2 separate regions of the Homo sapiens genome follow, and region 2 is linked to region 1. The links are contacts of gene promoters, found by promoter capture Hi-C in human tissues and cell types (Jung and others, 2019). All regions are on one chromosome and are shown on one strand. The core of a region is centred on a gene start or on the middle of the fragment in contact, and the rest is flanking DNA. Distances in the headings are between cores, read along the strand shown. Region 1 holds the start of KCNN2 (potassium calcium-activated channel subfamily N member 2). Region 2 overlaps KCNN2 (potassium calcium-activated channel subfamily N member 2).

Region 1 (3,430 bases), core at 697-3,196:
AGGACCTAAGTTACCTGTATTTCCCTGGCGTGGTACACGATGATCAGACCGAGCAGGATGATCGTGGAGAGACTGATAAGGCATTTCAGAGCTAAGGAATACAGCGACGCCTGCAACACAGTCAGACAGAAGCACTTTTAAGAAAGAAGCACTTTTAACCGCCTTCCACGTCCCCAGAGTCAGTCAGTCCCCCACAGGTGGACCTGAACTCACAGAAGGAAGATAAGGGGAGAGGGGTGCACCTGTCTTGGCTCTGTGATCTGTCAGATCACTCGGCCTCAAAACCAAAAGAGACGAGAGTAGACCTGGAAAGACTGGGAAGACGCGTGGCTGGGCTGCTGGGTCCACGCCATAGAGGACCGAAGCGAGCGCCGCTGTTCCAGGCTAGCAAAACCAGAGGAACTTACTTCTGAGTTCAAGAGAGCGGGTTGAAAGGGCCCTTCTAAACATAATTCACGAGGGGATGAATTACAGATGGTTTCCCCACCGACTTCCAGAACCACTTACTTAAGGTGCCCGAATGCGCTGAGCACTCTTAACTGCCTCGAGAACTTTGGCTGCACGCGGAAAGGGTTCATCTCCGAGTTGTTTAGCTGACTACGGATGCGCGTCCTAGACGCGCCCGCTGTCCTGGCGGGCTCCCTTGATCGTCCCGGAGAGGCTAGGGATCCGCACGCAAAGGGTCCCCGCCAGTGCCCATCCCAACCACCCAGTGCCCGACTCCGGTAGCGTGGGCTGGGGTTCAAGCCTGTACCTTGTCGTAGGCGCCCCACGACAGCTCGGTCTCGATGACCATGACCACGATGCCGAACATGCCGAAGATGAGCGCGTAGTCGCTGAGCCGCTTGCGCTTTTCGAACAGGGCGCGCCGGTGGCCCAGCTTGTAGCCGATGTTCTGGTTTTTCTTTTTGCTGGACTTGGTGCCACTGCTGCTGCCGTGCCCGCTCCCGCCACCGCCGCCGCCTCCTCCAGTGCTGCCTCCGCCGCCGGTTCCATAGAGCGCCAGGTTGTTGGAGTTGTTGTGCTCGGGCTTAGACACCACGATCTCGGGGGCTGAGGACGAAACAGCGGCGGCGGCGGCAGCGGCTGCAGACGGGGAGGACGCGCCGCCACCTCCTCCGACAGACGCGGGGGGCTGCAGGGGCTGCGCCTCTGAGTCCATCTCGTGCAGGTTCCGGCGGGACGCGCTCAAGTTGCTGAGCGGCCGCATGACGCCCCCGTTGTACCTGCAGCTGCTCATGGCTATTTCGGTGAAGGGGTTGCTCTCGCGGCGCGCCTGGGGCTGGTGGTGCTGGTGGTGCGCCGGGTGCGGGTGGTGGTGGTGGTGCGAGAGCGGGGGCCCGGAGCCCAGACTGCCGAGGCTGCCCGTGGGGCTGGCGGCGGGCTGCAGGCTGTGGCACTGGTGGTACTGGGAGGCGGACGCCGACTGCTGCGCGGACTGCTGCGCGTACTGCTGCCGGAGCGCACTGGCATGGCTGGACGGCGTCAGCTCGCTCACATTGAGCTGGCTGCCCCGGCGCGACGAGCAGCAGCAGCAGCAGCAGGACGAGCCCGACAGCGGCGAGGAGGTGCGGGTCCGGAAGGCGCCGCCGGGCGAGGAGGTGCGGAGCAGCAGGGACAGGTTATCTCCCGCCCCCGCCGCCGGGGCACCGGAGGAGGCGCAGCTGTTGCACCGGAGGCATGGGCTGCTGCCGCCGCTGGCCGGCTGCTGGTGCGCGAGGTGCGGGTGGTGGTGAGGGTGCGGGAGGGGCGCGAAGGGCGGGCACGGCTTGTCCTGGCTCTGTTGCTGCTGCTGGCAATGCAGGTGTGAGGAGCGCGGCGGCGGCGGCGGCTGCTCTGGGAAGAAGCCGCGCTGGAACTGCAATGGGGTTTCCATGTCAGGGCTGTTAAAGCTGCAGGGAGACCAAGCGGTGGTGCACCCTGCGCAATGCGTTATGGTCGGGAGCGGGGACTCCTGCTGCTGGTGCGAGGAAGGGCCCATGCCGGCTCCGGTAGAATCCAGGCGGCGAGTCCGATTGGTTGGGCGCACCAAAACAATGGGCATGACATCACCTGCGGGGACCGAGACTGAGTTTGCGGCGCGCGCGGCTTAGGGAAGCGTGTGTGGCAGAGAAAGATGGGGAGGGGAATCTGCAGGACAAACCCTAGGGGGGTGCAGTCCAGAGCCAGGGCGCTCCAGGGCAGGGATTCCGCCTGCTGATTGCGTGGAGATGGAGAGCCCCCACGCAGTGCAGCTGGGCTGCAGGGGGAGGAGAAAAGAGAAAGGCGCCCCTCCCTCCCGTGCCGCTGCCCCCTTGACTAGTGCCGGACGCGCTGCCCGGATCACCTGCGCCAGCCACTGCAGCACGTCGGGCCACCTTGGCCGGGGGCAGGCTCAGGGACGGTGTGGAACCCCGACCACTTCTCCGACTGCACGCCTCGCAGGGCTGCAAAACAGCAGCCCCCTCGTCCCACGCCCGCTTCTCCCAGATCATCCCGCCGAGAGTGGGCTGCCGGCTGCCCGCCAAGTAACTGCGGGGGCACTGGCTTTGGGGAGAAAAAGTTTGGCGACCGGCTGCGCCAGTGCAGCAGCGTGTGGGGAGAATCCCGGGGCCTGAGCCCTGCCTTGGCCGCTGCGGGATCATAGCCGACCCCGAGACCGGATCTTTCCCAGCCGGCAGGCTCTGGAATCTGGATTGGGTGCGCGGCGCTCTAGCCCAAGTGCGCTGCGGCGCGGGTAGGGTTAACCGCCTCGGCACCCCGGCCGGGGGTGGGTGGGGGCGGGGCCGGAGGAGGGGATCCCCGCAGTCTGCCGACAGAGCCGGCCGGGCTTCCCGGGTCCCCCCTGGCGGGGGCGGAGGGCTTTCCCCGCTACCGCCAGCTCACATTTGCGCCTTCTCCAGAACATGAGGGGATGGCGCCCCCGGCCGCCGGGTCCTGGGCTCTGGCGCTCAGGCCCTCCGGCAGCCCGAATCCGGAGGTCCCAGGGCTTCCTTGCCGGTGGAGAGGCAGGCGGCTCGCTCAAAGGTGTGGGGGCTGCTCAGCCACCGCCGGCCTCCAGCTGCTCTTCTGCTTCTCTTCCTCCTCCTCACCTGCAGCGCAGACACAAAGCAAAGACCGGTCACAAATACGCAAATATCGAGCATCTTTGCCAAGTCCTAACTGCAGCGGCGGGTGGGAAAGGGGCCTGGCGCGGGCTGATTCACCCCGGTAGTCGCAGCCTGGCAGGGAAATTAAGAATGATAGCTTGGGCTGAATAGTCGCTGCCCACGGACAGTGCTGGAGTTTTGTTGGAGTTCGGTATCATTATTTATTTATTTACTCTCTAATAAACTAACAAAAATTGCATTTGGTGTCTCACAAATTCCCTGTGCTGTCTTCTTCTAAGAGATGTACCAACACAATGCACTAGGTGATCCTTATGTTCTTTGTTTCTGCTCCATCTTAAGTC
Region 2 (3,430 bases), core at 361-2,860, 100 kb before region 1:
ATGAATCATCCCTCGGTTTAAATCTCCTGATTAGCAACAGTGCCAGTGTGAGTGCAGGTACTTCAGAGATAGGAAGGGCAGCTCTGCCAATTAAAAGTGCTGATAGTTTAGAAAAATTGGGTGAAATTGTGGAGTCCATGAGCTGTGTGCTAAAAGGTCACAACAACTTCCACCTATACTTTCCTGTACCCGGAAGACGGCAGCTGTCATATTTAAGACATTTTTTTGCGATCCACTTATGAAATTTCTTGGTGGGAAGTGAAGGTCCTCAAGAAAGGACATTGGTGGGGAATTTAGCCTTATGACTGAAAAGGCCCATCTCCTCCAGCTGCTCTGCACAAAATAGAAACTATTGTATGTAAGAACTTAAAGATATACTCTCTTCACTGGGGCTTTATCTGATGAGATTCAGTGAACGCACCAGAAAGAACCAAAAAGCAAGCAATACAAAAGTTAAAACCTCTTCAAAATTAAACACCCAATGTCAAATTGTGTAAGACATTTTTAAAAATCCTTGAGTGTTTTGCACATTCTCAAACATTCAACACTAAGGAATGGCTTCAGATCAGTTTTGCAGGATTTCTATGTACACTGGCGGGGGAAAACAAATCCTCAAATGGAAACAGAGAGTGTTACAGGAAGAGGAGTATAATCAGACCTTAGGTTTCGCATTCTTTCATACCAATCACTTCTTTTTTATGAGCTCTAGCTAATTCGTGCTGTTTTGGAACACCCTCTTAGCGACTTAACAGGGTAGTGTTTTTGCTCTTCAGGATGCAAACTGTTTGTTTAACTGACAACTAATGGAGTCACCATGTGATGTTAAATTAAGATTTCCTCGGCACAGGGCAAATTTAACGTGGAAAGGATTATTATCAAATCTTAAGGAAAAGGCAAGGCTGTGTAAAGGCTTCTGTCCTGAACTGACTTGTTTTTTTGCTCCTTGAAGAAAATTTTAAAATTTAATTAGCGTAGTGATTTTCAAATTGCTATGAACTGCGAAAGCTTTACGCATTGCTTTTGTTTACATAGAACTACTAGTGGGATGGAAGAAACCTAAATCACTGATATCTGAAGTGTCCTCAGTTTTGTTGAGGGAGTCATGCTAGATGTTGTCAAAGTCTAGTGGTTTATAAATCACTATTAGAGAACCATTTATTGAATAACAACCTGCATCCCTAGGAATGAACAGATATTACTCGATATTTAAAGATAATTAAACCAAAAAATCCAGTCATCCATACTCTAGTCAAAAGGCCACCAAGAGTCACTGTAATTTTACAGAAATAGAGAAGCAAAAAGAACAAATGAGCAACCTTAATTCCAGTATAAGATGAAAGATACCCTTACCCACAAGGCTATTTTTCACTCTTGAAACAATCATATATATTCATAGTTGTGGGAGAATTCATAGCTTTCAGGATGTGTTTTATATATATATATATATATTTCTAGGAAGATAAAATAACTTTGTAAATGCTAAGTAAAACAATTACTTTATTGGAAAATTGGAGACATTGAGAAACTAGCTGGTGCTGTCCAAAAGCTGATAGACACTGTGATCTAACCATATTACTTGCCTACCATCTTCAACCAAAAGTACAAAGCTACTCAGAAATCATCCCATTGTTTATCATGACCTTTACAATAGTAAACCCTCAGGTCTTCAGTACTTCCTCAAATAGCAGAAGGGTAGAAGAATAAAAAGAGAAAATAAGTAATTACAACCATAATGGTTTTCTCTTGAAGGGTAGTGAGTGGTTTTCTTTTATTTCTTCTATTAGGCAATCTCATGACTTATTTTATAAAAATAATAATAAGAGATCTTGGTCTCTTAAGCTTTAATTCCCATATTGGTCTTGGTAATGAAGAAATTTCTACATTCTCCATAGGAGTGTCTAGGTCACTTTCATCCATATGCTCTTGATCCCTAAGGAGCTGATGTAAGATGTAATCAACTGCCAGAAGTGAATCCCAGGAAGACTGCCCCGTAGCCTGACTCCATGGGAATCTGCTTAGTCTAGAAGAAGAGATAATCCAACTCTACAGAGCATCTCAAATATGTTACTCAAATATTAGTGAATTTCTCTGTATGCAAGTAAACCAATTTTGATCAAGTCAATTAATTAGGAAATAAGTCTGATCCTTATGAAGGAGAGGGAATGGAGCTCCTCAGCCTAAGAATAGAGGGACTCTTTTACCATAAGCTTAAGGGCTGGAACGAAGTCACCATAAATTCCATTACATATAACATTTTTGTGTCCACATATATTTAATGGTACTATAACCTCTCTCTTTTTTTTTTTTTGAGATGATGGAGTTTCACTCTTGTTGCCCAGGCTAGAGTGCCATGGCGCAATCTCGGCTCACTGCAACCTCCGCCTCCCACGTTCAAGAGATTCTCCTGCCTCAGCCTCCTGAATAGCTGGGATTATAGGCATGTGCCACCACACCTGGCTAATTCTGTATTTTTAGTAGAGAGGGGGTTTCTCCATGTTGGTCAGGTTGGTCTCGAACTCCCAACCTCAGGTGATCCACCTGCCTCGGCCTCCCAAAGTGTTGGGATTACAGGCGTGGGACACAGTGCCAGGCCATAACCTCTCTTTTTTAAGCAAAGTAAGATCAGTAGTGAAACCTGAGCAAGAGGCAGTTCAAGAAGGTAAATAAAAGATTTGTACTATCTGATGAGACTTTGAAGGAACAGTTTTTGAGACACGAGGAACAAGAAAATATCAAGGAACGATAAACATTTTGTAAAACCCAGGCAAGGTTAACCTCAAATTTGGCTCAGATTCCATGGCAAATAAGCCTGTGCACATGACCCTTGAGTCACACCTGATTGGAGAATAAAAGAGGGTACCATCTTGACAAAAAGTAACACTAAGGAAGTTGTTTCTAAGAAGCACTAGGGGAAAGACTCTGCAATTACTAGTTTTTATAAATAGCATCATTTATATCCCTTGTGGACTTGTTATGGGCCTCCTAAAAATAATCTATGCAAATTACATTTCCCAAAGCATTATACCACATAATAAAATGCTATTATTTGAGGAAAAAAGGGGAAGTGATCCAATAGTAAACAAACAGATAATGCAGCATACCGTTTTTTTTTTTAAAGTTCACTATAATTAAAACTATTATTTTTCTTTTAAAGGCAAATAATGTTAAATTATGCCCCCAAACTATATTTTCTACAATTGGGACTTGAAATGGCCATCTTGTTACTACTGGGACATTAAAATTGACCCTGGATTCTTATTTTCAAAGTTAGCTGCCTTATCCCAGTTGAACACTACCGAGGGGGGAGAAGGATGTTGCCTGTCTATGCCAAGGGCACGCTCTCCTTCCACTTAGCTGTGACTCTTGGAGCAGTCTTCCCAGGCAGCTTCTGCAAAGGTGTGCACCCTCCACTGGCCACCACTCAGAGGCC

The links. The method cuts DNA at HindIII sites, captures the fragments that hold promoters and counts their contacts. A contact is called where the count stands out against the background at its distance.
Region 2: a contact is called between a fragment that was not itself captured here and the fragment with the promoter of KCNN2 in region 1, in 2 of the 25 tissues and cell types used here (adrenal gland and hippocampus).

Annotation. Positions count from the first base shown.
Region 1 is chr5:114,360,586-114,364,015 of GRCh38, reverse strand. KCNN2 (potassium calcium-activated channel subfamily N member 2) reads right to left here and starts at 1,946. Exons shown (of 8, transcript NM_021614.4): 1 at 755-1,946; 2 at 15-110. The coding sequence starts at 1,876. RefSeq lists a silencer at 2,669-2,878 and an enhancer at 2,917-3,430. The HindIII fragment of the contact is 16,034 bases long and covers 1-3,430 here.
Region 2 is chr5:114,464,494-114,467,923 of GRCh38, reverse strand. All of the region lies in intron 4 of KCNN2 (potassium calcium-activated channel subfamily N member 2), which reads right to left. The region is part of intron 11 of LOC101927078 (a long non-coding RNA gene); the gene reads left to right. Among named protein-coding and RNA genes, the nearest start is that of KCNN2, 100 kb to the right of the region's middle. The HindIII fragment of the contact is 3,136 bases long and covers 43-3,178 here.